2 separate regions of the Homo sapiens genome follow, and region 1 is linked to region 2. The links are contacts of gene promoters, found by promoter capture Hi-C in blood cells and fetal thymus (Javierre and others, 2016). All regions are on one chromosome and are shown on one strand. Each heading gives the region's core, a stretch centred on a gene start or on the middle of the fragment in contact. The rest is flanking DNA. Distances are from core to core; before and after follow the strand shown.

What was found. The method cuts DNA at HindIII sites, captures the fragments that hold promoters and counts their contacts. A CHiCAGO score of 5 or more calls a contact.
Region 1: a contact is called between a fragment that was not itself captured here and the fragment with the promoter of SKA3 in region 2, in 1 of 17 cell types (M2 macrophages). The highest score is 5.1, in M2 macrophages.

Annotation. Positions count from the first base shown.
Region 1 is chr13:20,967,030-20,972,817 of GRCh38, reverse strand. LOC124903269 (small nucleolar RNA U13) reads right to left here and starts at 3,500; the gene lies at 3,402-3,500. The HindIII fragment of the contact is 540 bases long and covers 3,999-4,538 here.
Region 2 is chr13:21,174,910-21,181,258 of GRCh38, reverse strand. SKA3 (spindle and kinetochore associated complex subunit 3) reads left to right here and starts at 4,707. Exons shown (of 9, transcript NM_145061.6): 1 at 4,707-4,884. The coding sequence starts at 4,782. It overlaps MRPL57 (mitochondrial ribosomal protein L57), which reads right to left and starts at 4,601. Exons shown (of 2, transcript NM_024026.5): 1 at 4,542-4,601; 2 at 2,175-4,347. The coding sequence starts at 4,342. The coding sequence ends at 4,034. RefSeq lists enhancers at 4,132-4,451, 4,467-5,189, 5,912-6,349. The HindIII fragment of the contact is 19,534 bases long and covers 1-6,349 here.

The sequences.
Region 1 (5,788 bases), core at 3,019-5,518, 210 kb after region 2:
GGGAACAAAATATGCCTCATTAGGATTACTGAGTGGCTTAAGTGGGATGTCAAATAAATATGGTGGGTGATCAAGTAAATCATGAATAAGAGCTAATTCCCCAGCATAATATGTTAAACTGAGAGGACAGTTAGAGCTCCTGACCTTGCATTTTAAATTGTTGATGAGGCCTGGTGCGGTGGCTCACACCTGTAATCCCAGCACTTTGGGAAGCTGAGGCTGGTGGATCACCTGAGGTTAGGAGTTCAAGACCAACCTAGCCAACATGGCGAAACCCTGTCTCTACTAAATAACTAAATATACAAAAATTAGCTGGGTGGGGTGGTGGGTACCTGTAATCCCAGCTACTCGGGTGGCCGAGGCAGGGAGAATTGCTTGAACTTGGGAGGCAGAGGTTGCAGTGAGCTGAGATTGCACCACTGCACCCCAGCCTGGGCCACAGAGCAAGACTCCGTCTTAAAAAAATAGACTGGGTGCAGTGGCTCATGCCTGTAATCCCAGCACTTTCAGAGACCAAGGCGGGTGGATCATCTGAGGTCAGGAGTTCGAGACCAGCCTGACCAACATGGTGAAACTGTCTCTACTAAAAATACAAAAAAATTACCGGTTGTGGGTGGTGTATTCCTGTAGTCCCAGCTACTTGGGAGGCTGAGGCAGGAGAATCACTTGAACCGAGGAGGTGGAGGTTACAGTGAGCTGAGATCATGCCACTGCACTCCAGCCTGGGAAGAAGAGACAAACTCTGTCTCAAAGAAGATAGATAGATGATAAAGATTGATGGTATTAGAAATCTGGAAAATATAAGAGTTTGTATACTTTAAATAGGTACAGTCACATGGTTTAGAAATCAAAACATACTGGCCGGGCACGGTGGCTCACACCTGTAATCCCAGCACTTTGGGATGCTAAAGTGGGCAGATCACCTGAAGTCAGGAGTTTGAGATCAGCCTGGCCAAAATGGTGAAACCTCATGTCTACTAAAAATACAAAAATTAGCTGCACATGGTGGTGTGCACCTGTAATCCCAGCTACTTAGGAGGCTGAGGCAGGAAAATCGCTTGAACCCGGGCGGCAGAGGTTGCAGTGAGCTGAGATTGTGCCACTGCATTCCAGCCTGGGAGACAGCAAGACTCTGTCTCAAAAAAAAAAAAAAAAAAAAAATCAAAACATATAAAAGTGATATACAAAAAAAGTCTCCTTCACTTCCAGTCATTCAATTCACCTCCCCACAGACAACAAATGATATTATTAACAATATACTGGGCATTCTTAGAGGAATGAAAGTTTATGTACAAGAAAAAATATATATGTGTACCTTTTGCCTCTTACAGAAATGAGGGAATATTATGCATATTTTTCTGCATTTGTTTTCTTCACTTGACAATATTTCTTGGCACTCTATATAGCAGCACATAAAGAAATTTTTTTATTCTTACTGCATAGTATTCCATTGTGAGGGTATTATAATCAAACTGGTCCCATATGGCTAGACATTTAGTTGTTTCTGACCTTTTCCTATTATAAACAATGTTAGAATAAATAACCTCTTATAACCATCATTTGTGTAAGTGAAAGTAATTATGTGGGACAGATTCCTAGAGGTGCAATTCTTAGGTCAAAAGTAAGGTGTATTTGCAAGGTTTATTGCCACATTTCCCTGTGCAGATGTGAGCAGTTTCTCCCCAGCTCCCTCGTGCACACTTTGCTGAATATGCCAAGAAGGCAAGGCCTGACTGCTCTTTATCTGAGCCATTTCTCAGGATTGGATTTGTAGTGAGCAGCTTTAAGGGGTAAGATGATGTCTCTCTCCAAGACAAAGAGCAAGTTTGCTTGCTGCTTGGTATCAAAAAGATTCTCCAAGCTTAGTATACCTCAGCAGAACCCATCTGGGTCTTCCACATTGCCCCGGTGGGACTAGGGAACAAGGGGAAACTGATGCAAACATGCTGCTTGCTGTGCTATGAAAAATAAAGTCCTTTGTCTCTGATCCAGGAATCTTTGTCTTAGTCCAGCATCCATTAAAGCAGGGGTCCCCAACACCCAGGCTACTGACTGGTACCAGTCCATGGCCTGTTAGGAATGGGGCTGCACAGCAAGAGGTGAGTGGTGGGTGAGTGAGCATGACTGCCTGAGTTCCACCTCCTGTTAGATCAGCAGTGCATTAGGTTGTCATAGAAGCACAAACCCTATTGTGAACTGCACATATGAGGGATCTAGGTTGATCTCTGCACTCATGAGAATCTAATGCCTGATGATCTGAGGTGGAAGACTTTCATCCTGAAACCATCCCTTCCCCGTCCATGGAAAAATTGTCTTCCACAAAACTGGTCCCTGGTGCCAAAAAGGTTGGGGACCACTCCACTAAAGAACAGGCTAACTTATTGCCTTGTAAAAGTAGGGAAGGCCAGGCACCATGTGTCATGCCTGTAATCCCAGCACTTTGTGGGGCTGAGGCAGGCGGATCGCCTGAACCCAGGTGTTCGAGACCAGTCTGGGCAATATGGGGAAACCCCATCTCTACTAAAAATACAAAAATTAGGCCAGGCGTGTTGGCTCACACCTGTAATCCCAGCATTTTGGGAGGCCAAGGCAGGTGGATCGCCTAAGGTCAGGAGTTCAAGACCAGACTGGCCAATATGGTGAAACCCAGTCTCTACTAAAATACAAAAATTAGCTGGGTGTGGTGGCACACACCTGTAGTCTCAGCTACTTGGGAGGCTGAGGCAGGAGAATTGCTTGAACCCTGGAGGCAGAGGTTGCAGTGAGCTGAAATCGTGCCATTGCACTCCAGCCTGGGCTACAGAGTGAGACTTCGTCTAAAAAAAAAAAAATTAGCATAATAAAAAAATCTTCGATATTAAGTCAATATTCGTAAGTAGTACTCTGCTGGTTTTTTTTTTTTTTTTTTTTTTTTTTTTTGAGAGGTTCTTGCTCTGTCACCCAGGCTGCAATGCAGTAGCATGAACATGGCTCAGTGCAGCCTTGACCTCTTGGACTCAAGTGATCCTCCTACCTCAGCCTCTCAAGTAGCTGGGTAGCTGGGACTACAGGTGTGCACCGCCATATATATATATATATATATATATATATATATATATATATATATATATATATATATATTTTTTTTTTTTTTTTTTTTTTTGTAGATACAGGGACTCCCTATGTTGCCCAGGCTGGTCTTGAACTCCTGGGCTCAAGTGATCCTTATGCTGATATTATTAATCCTGTTAAATCTTTTTCCATCAGTAAAAAAAGCTTTTCCTTTGTAAGAGAATTTTCCATTTCCAGCAGAAGCCTACACTGAATGGACAAAATGAGCTTATTCACCTTAGAAAAGAAAAATCTTATTGGACACTGGGATGAAGTGCATATGGGTCATTGTGAGTTTTTTCCTAAGTTCACATCAGATGAGTCATGTGCCAATGTAACAAAGTTTGAGGGAGGCACCTCCCATATGAGTGTGAAAACCCAATGGTCATGCTTAAAAGGTACAAAATGATTGGAGGCTATTGTCACAGAGTGAAAACCACTCGAATGGTTTTCTTTTTCAGTGTTGTTCTTTTTCAGTTCACATCAGACACATAATTTTTTTGTTTTGACTATCAAACATTTAAGAAAACTCAAGAGAAGGAAGGTCTGTCATATTAACTGATATTTTTGCTTACCATGTTCTTTCTTTTCTTCCTGATGTGCTAAGGCTTTTTCTTTTTATCTTTTTCTTTCTTTTTAGAGAACCTCCTTTAGCCGTTCTTTTAAGGGAGGTCTATTGGTGACATTCTCTTAGGTTTCCTTCACCTGAAAATGTCTTCATGTCCCCTCCCTTCCTGAAGGGTATTTCCACTGGCTACAGGATTCTAGATTGATAGTTTTCTTTCAGCACTTGAAAAATGCTGTGCCACTTCCTCCTGCTCTCCGTGGTTTCTCAAGAGAATCTGTAGTCATTCTAATGATTTTCCCCTATGGATAGATAAGGTGTTTTCTCTGGCTGCTTTCAAGCTTTTCTCTTTGCATACTTTTCAGAAGTTGAATTAGGAGATTCTTGGCTTAGATTTATTTGGGTTTTTACTGTTTGTGGTTCACTCAGCTTCTTGAATCTGTAGGTTTATTTTTATGGCCAAATTTGGGATTTGGGGAGTTTTCAGGCATTATTTCCAGAGCTTTTTCATTCACACCTCTCCTTTCGAACTCTACTTCTATGACTCTACTGATACAAATACTAGATCTTTTGTTATAATTCTTACGCTTCGGCTCTCCCACCTCCACATTCCCCTCCATTTTTCTCTGTAAAAATGGATACATCTGTTTACATTGGATAATTTCTATTGTTCTAGCTTCCAGTTCACTAATTCTTTCCTTGGACCCTTTTATTCTTCTCTTGAACCCATTCACTGAGCTTTTCATTTCAGTTACTGTATCTTTTAGTTTTTTAGTTTAGTTTAGTTTTTTTTTTTTGAGATGGAGTTTCCCTCTTGTTGCCCAGGCTGGAATGCAAGGCGCAATCCCAGCTCACCGCAACCTCCACCTCCTGGGTTCAAGCTTTTCTCCTGTCTCAGCCTCCCAAGTAGCTGGGACTACAGGCACATGCCACCACACTGGCTAATTTTTTTTATTTTTAGTAGAGTTGGGGTTTCATCGTGTTGGATCAGGCTGGTCTCGAACTCCTGACCTCAGGTGATCCGCCCACCTCAGCCTCCAAAGTGCTGGGATTACAGGCATGAGCCACCATGCCCAGCAATCTTTTAGTTCTAAAGTTTCCATTTTTGGAGCCGATCGTGGTGGCTCATGCCAGTAATCCCAGTACTTTGGGAGGCTGAGGCGGGCAGATTACTTGAGGTCAAGAATTCGAGATCAGCCTGGCCAACATGATGAAACTCCATCTCTACCAAAAATACAAAACATTTGCCAGGCGTGGTGGTGCGCACCTGTAATCCCAGTTACTTGGGAGGCTGAGGCACAAGAATTGCTTGACCCAGGAGGCAGAGGTTGCAGTGAGCCAAGATGGCATCACTGCACTACAGCCTACGCGATAGAGTAAGCCTTAAAAAAAAAAAAAAAAACAAGAAGAAGCCAGAATACAGGAGTTGGGGTAGGTGGGAGGAAAAGCAGTTTTAACTGGAGAGCCAGCAAACAAAGAAGATGGCAATAGCATTCTAAAGTACCGGCTTAAATTTTAAAATTTACCACGGGGTTTTCAAAGGGAAACTTGGTATGGGAAACATGCGGGAATGGTGCAGGGTGCAGGGTCCTGTGTGTCTTGTTCTGGTGGCTATCTTGGGTAATCACCTGTCCAAAGGTATGATTGGCGTTATCTTGACTTCAGCCTGGTGATGGTGGACTAATTGTCATGACTCCCCCTAAACGGGAGGATTCTGCAGTGGGGGCTTCATGCCTGGTTTGTTTGAGATTAGCCTCTGGGATTTCTTAAGCAAGAATGTAATTAGATAAACATTCATTGCCAGAGGGGAGTGTAGAGAGGGAAGGAATGAAGGGATGAGAGGGGAAGGAAGGAAGACAAAGAAAGTGAGTGATTAAAATATATTTTTAAAACTGAGGTACTTGGTTACGGGGGATCGCTTGAGCCCAGGAGTTCAAGGCTGCAATGAGCTATGATTGCACCACTGTACTCCAGACTGGGCAACAGAGTGAGACCCTTTCTCAAAAATGAGACCCTTTCTCAAAAAAAAAAAAAAAAGTAAAATTTCCATTTATTCCTTCTTCTAGTTTCTGTTTCTTTGCTGGCACTTTTTATCTTTTGTATCAGGAGTGTTTGTAATTGCTCATTAAAGTC
Region 2 (6,349 bases), core at 3,458-5,957:
TTTGTTAAAAGATAACAAATAATTTTTTCTTTTTGAGTCTTGCTCTGTCACCCAGGCTGCAGCGCAACGGCTCAATCTCTGCTCACTGCAACCTCCGTCTCCCAGGTTCAAGCAATTCTCCTGCCTCAGCCTCCAGAGTAGCTAGTACTAGAGGTGCACGCCACCACGCCCAGCTAATTTTTGTATTTTTAGTAGAGCCAGGGTTTCGCCATGTTGGCCAGGCTGGTCTCGAACGCCTGACCTCAGGTGATCCACCTGGTTCGGCTTCCCTAAGTGCTGGGATAACAGGTGTGAGCCATTGTGCCCAGCATGAATAATCATTTTTAAAAACCTAATGTGTCGGCTGGGCACATGATGGCGCCACTGCACTCCAGCCTGGGTGACACAGCGAGACTTGATCTCAAAAAAAAAAAAAAAAAACAATGTGTCTTCACCATAGCCTATACAAATTGCAGATATTAAAATGTGAATGGGAGCTGGGCATGGTGGCTCATGCCTGTAATCCCAGCACTTTGGGAGGCCAAGGCAGGCGGATGGCTTGAGCCCAGGAATTGGGGACCAGCCTGGGCAACATGGCGAAAACTTGTCTCTACAAAAAAATACAAAAATCAATTGAGCATGGAGGTTGAGGTTGCAGTGAGGCAAGATGGCACCACTGCAATCCAGCCTGAGCAACAGAGCAAGACCCTGTCTCAAAAAAAAAAAAAAAAAAAGTGAATCATCTAACAAAACACAGTAATTTTTGTTAATGAGGAAAAACATTTAATGCTGGCAAATAAGACTCCCACTCTCATACATTAGTCTTGAAATTTTGCACTACCTTTCTGGAAAGCCATTTGTTATCAGAATATTTAAATGTTACAGTTACAGCTTTCGGCTCTAAATTCTATTTATCTATCTCAATACATTTTTGATTCATTTCATTTTAGAGATAGGGTCTCACTATGTTGCCCAGGCTGGTCTCACACTCTTGGCATCAAGCAATCCTCCTACCTCAGCCTCCCGAAGTGCTGGGGTTTCAGGCTGAGCCACCATACACAGCAAAAAAAAAAATTGAGACATTGTTCTGTTCCCCAGCCAGGAATGTAGTGGCACAATCATAGCTCACTGCAGCCTCAAGCTCCTGGGCTCAATATCTCAATATATTTTCAAAAAGCGTATGTATAAGGAGACTAAAAGAAAAAAAAATGAAGATTATCTCGTTAATGGGAAATAGTGAATAATGGGATTGAATTTTTTTTTCTATATATTTAACAGTCAACAAGATTTCTTTTTTGGCGGGGGTTAATCCATCGCTGCAAGCATTTATCCTTTCTTTGTGTTACAAACAATCCAATTGTAGTATTTTAGCTATTTTTTTCTTGAGACAGGGTCTTACTCTGTGGCCCAGGCTGGAGTGTCGTGGCACAACCACAGCTCACTGCAGCCTCAACCTCCCCAGCTCAAGCCATCCTTCTGCCTCAGTCTCCCAAGCAGCTAGGACTACAGGTGCACACCATGGGCCTGGCCAATTTTTTGATTTTTTGTAGAGTTCTCACTATGTTGCCCAAGCTGGTCTCCAATTCTTAGGCTTCCCAAAGTGTTGGGATTGCAAACGTTAGCCAGTGTGCCAGGCCATCTTTCAGCTATTTATTTTTATTTTTTTGAGATGGAGTCTTGCTCTGTCACCAGGCTGGAGTGCAGTGGCACAATCTCAGCTCACTGCAATCTCCAACTCCCTGGTTCAAGTGATTCTCCTCCTGCCTCAGCCTCCCGAGTAGCTGGAATTAAAGGCATGTGCCACCATGCCCAGCTAGTTTTTCTATTTTTTAGTAGAGATGGGGTTTCACCATATTGGCCAGGATGGTCCCGATCTCCCGACCTCGTGATCCGCCTGCCTAGACCTCCCAAAGTGCTGGGATTACAGGCGTGAGCCACCACACCCGGCCTCAGCTATTTTTAAATGTTCAATAAATTATTGTTGACCGTACTCACCCAAGATTTCTGTATTATACAGCAATTCAATCTCAAGTCCATCTCATCACTGGCTGTAACTGTGGACAGTTCCTTAAATGTTTCCTCAAATATAAAATAGTTCCAACCGTATAGAGTGCTGTATACTGTGTCACCAAATGCATATTGTATAGGGTACTGTATTACACTACTATATACAGTATGTATTTAGAAACACAAAGTTTTTGACTATTTTTATTATATTCTGAAAGCGAACATCTTCAACTGGTAAATTACATGGTATATTAAATTATTTTCAAAAAAGATATTTTTATTTATATTATTATATGTATTTTTTGAGATGGTGTCTCACTCCCGTCATGCAGGCTGGAGAGCAGTGGCACGATCTCAGCTCACTGCAACCTCCACCACCTGGGTTCAAGCAATTCTCCTTCCTCAGCCTTCCCAGTAGCTAGGATTACAGGCATGCATGACCAAGCCTGGCTAAATTTTTTTTGCTGATTTTTATATTTTTAGTAGAGATGGGGTTTCACCATATTGGCCAGGCTGGTCTCGAACTCCTGACCTTGTGATCCGCCCACCTTGGCCTCCCAAAGTGCTGGGATTACAGGCGTAAGCCACCACGCCCGGCTAATTTTTGTATTTTTAGTAGAGATGGGGTTTCGCCATGTTGGCCAGGCTGGTCTGGAACTCCTGATCTCAGGTGATCCTTCTGCCTAAGCCTCCCAAAGTGATGGGATTACAGAAGTGAGCCACCGTGTGGGCCTCAGCCATACAACTTTGACAAAGTTCTTTGTGTGTCTTCCCAGTCAATAGTGGTTTCTCCTTTATTCCTGTTCCCACAGACGCAATTCTGATTTTTTTCCCCACCTAAATTTTCTTTTTCTGTCGCCCAGGCTAGAGTGCAGTGACACAATCTCGACTTACTGCAGCCTCCACCTCCTGGGTGCAAGCGATTCTCCTGCCTCAGCCTCCTGAGTAGCTGGGATTACAGGCCTCACCACTGCACCCGGCTAATTTTATGTATTTTCAGTGGAGACAGGGTTTCACCATGTTGGTTGGGCTGGTCTTGAACTCCTGGCCTCAAGTGATCTGCCCGCCTCAGCCTCCCAAAGTGCTGGGATTACAGGCGTGAGCCATCCCGCCTGGCCATATATTATTGTTATTTTAGATAGGGTCTCGCTATGTTGCCCAAGCTGGACTCAAGCAATATTCCTGAATAGCTGGGACTACATGCAAGCACCACAGCACCCTGCCAAAATAGCTAAAAAATACACCTTCCTGTAACAGCTCTGATAAATATCTTTTACTTCGTTTATTTTTCTTTTTTGAGATGCAGTCTCCCAGGCTGGAGTGCAGCGGCATGCTCTCGGCTCACTGCAACCTCCGCTTCATTGCAACCTCTGCCTCTGAGGTTCAGGCGATCCTCCCACCTCAGCGTCCCAAGTAGCTGGGATTGCAAGCCTGCACCAACATACCCAGCTAATTTTTTTTGTATTAGTAGAGACGGGTTTTATCACCTTGGCCAAGCTGGTCTTGAACTCCTGACCTCAAGTGATCCGCCCGCCTTGGACTCCTAAAGTGTTGGGATTACAGGCGTGAGCCACCGCACCCGGCCTCTTTTACTTCGCTTAAATGTCCAATTTTAGTAGTAAAATCCCGGAAAATGTTTTTAGGAGTATGTTTAACTGAAAAGCTCATATTTTCTTTCATTTTTGGGCAATTCTTAAGGTAAGCAAACTAATGTTGCATGATAAAGCCCCCATCAAGTATCTCATACTTAAGCAAAGACCTCAAATCATTGTGGCTTTATTGCAGCTTTCCTTCAAAATATCATCTGTGACTGAGGAAATCCCTATCTTCCTATCAGACTAATGAAACCACAGGACAGCAATTAGACTTTTAAGTATTGGGGGTTTAGAGCTCTAGATATTCGATATGCAGACTACTCATGTTTGTTTGTTTTAATAAAGACTGGTCCAAAGGCTCATTTTCACACAAGCTACAGTTTTTCAGTTCCAGGACCAGGTAAAGATGGTCAGCTCCGTGATCCATAAAATCCAAGGGTGACGACTCAGGATTAGGACCATTTCTTGGTGACATTGAGATGGTCGAGCTGGTCCGCAATGAATCTATGCGGGGGGAACTTGGAAGTGGCGGCCGCCTTTATGGCCTCGAAGGCCTCCCTCCTGCGCACCGCGGCGTGGCCGCGCTCCTGCTCCCGGGTCATGTAGGGCATGCTCAGCCAGTAATGGTTCTCCGCCTCGATCTCCAGGCGGCGGATCATGTTCTGCTTGGCGCGCAACGACACGAACCGCGGCCGCCGGTGCTTCCCGATCCACTGACGGCCGGGAATGCGGCCGCGCCAGAGGAGCGCAGTCAGGAACATGGTGCCTGCGGAAGAGAGGGACGGGCTTTGCGGAGGCGAACTGGCGCGGCCGGACCTGGAGAGAGCAGCGGGCGCGCGCTCCAGCTCACGCCTACGGGAGTTCCCGCACCGCCTCCCCTCCAGAGAAGCGGGGAGCCCAGGTAAGGCCAGCAGGCGAAGAAGGAGCTCCCTAGAGAACCGAATTCGCACAGCTACTCACCTGCCGCGCTGCTCAAGACTCTGCGTCTCCGCGGCCGCCAGCAGACGCCGTGGCGTAAGCGCACCCGTCTCGCGGGGTCTCCTGGGGCCTCGGCGAGAGACTTCGGCTCTCGCGAGAGAGGACTGCGCCTGCGCAGAGCCGAGGACGCGTCCGGCGCCGAGATTCAAACTAGTGGCGGGAGGCTGTGAGCTGAGCGGTGGGGTCTGCGTACGCCTGGAGTCCTTCCCCGCTGTGCTCAGCATGGACCCTATCCGGAGCTTCTGCGGGAAGCTGCGGTCTCTGGCCAGCACGCTGGACTGCGAGACGGCCCGGCTGCAGCGAGCGCTGGACGGAGAGGAAAGCGGTGCGTGAGGCGGGCGGCCAGGGCACGGTGCGTGGGGTGCGCCGCGGGCGGAGGGGCGTGGCGAGTGGACGGTATGTCCCACGGGAACCGCCAGGCACTGACGGCGTGGACGGCTGCCACCGAGGCGCAGGGCGGGTGCTGCGCGTCTCACTGCTCGGCGTTTGGCGTTAGCGTAGCTCCCGGGCCTGTTTATGGTTTATTCCTAGGAACCCTTGTCGCGTGTCCGTTTTAGACCCATGTACAACCCCACGGCTCTCTTGAGATAATGAAAGTAGCACTATTACGTTATAAACAGAGACAGCAGCACTTAAGAATAAGAACCTAAATTAACAGATTGAGCTCATAATACATATACTAATTTATACGTGATATGCTTTCGTCACATACAATATGTGTGCTTGTCAGTAAAATACCATGTAAACCTAAACAGTTTCTCTTAGAATCAAGCTATTTAACGTTCTTTACACAATACTTTACACATATAGTGACTTTTTTCTCACTCACGTGGTCCACAGTTGCAGTAAACCTCTGTGTTTTTCCCGCTAAACCATGTTGCCAACACAAACACTAGTACTCAACAGTGCTGGGGTTTAAAAAAATATGTGTATATAAATAAAGCAAAATTCACCATTCCCCTTTTTATTAGAGATTTTTTAAATTGTTGAAAAAGTAGTTCAGATTTTGGAATTATTTCATAAATGTCATAATTGTAATGTGCTTTAAAATATTACACCCTGCAGACTACTTTTACTTTAATTATATAATGAATGATCTCCAGTCACTTGAAAATGTCTATTTCTGCCCGGCGCGGTGGCTCACGCCTGTAATCCTAGCACTTTGGGAGGCTGAGGCGGGCGGATCACAAGGTCAGGAGATCGAGACCATTCTGGCTAACACGGTGAAACCCCGTCTCTACTAAAAATACAAAAAATTAGCCGGGCGTGGTGGCGGGCGCCGGTAGTCCCAGCTACTCGGGAGGCTGAGGTAGGAGAATGGCGTGAACCCGGGAGGCGGAACTTGCAGTGAGCCGAGATCCGCCACTGCACTCCAGCCTCGGCGACAGAGCAAGAGTCCGTCTCAAAAAGAAAAAAAGATTTGGCCGTGCACGGTGGCACACGCCTGTAATCCCAGCATTTTGGGAGGCCGAGGTGGGTGGATCGCCCGAGGTCAGGAGTTCAAGACCAGCCTGGCCAACGTGGTGAAACCTCGTCTCTACTAAAAATACAAAACAATTAGCTGGGCATAGTAGTGGGCGCCTGTAATCCCAGCTACTCGGAGGCTGAGGTGGGAGAATCGCTTGAACCCTGGAAGCGGAGGTTGCAGTGACCCGAGATCGCGCCACTGCACTCCAGCCTGAGCGATCTTAGACTCCATCTAAGAAAGAAAAAACTATCTTCAGATGGTCATCAGGAATGTGAAAAGACATCAATTTCATTAGTCATCAAGGAAATGCAAATTTCATTAG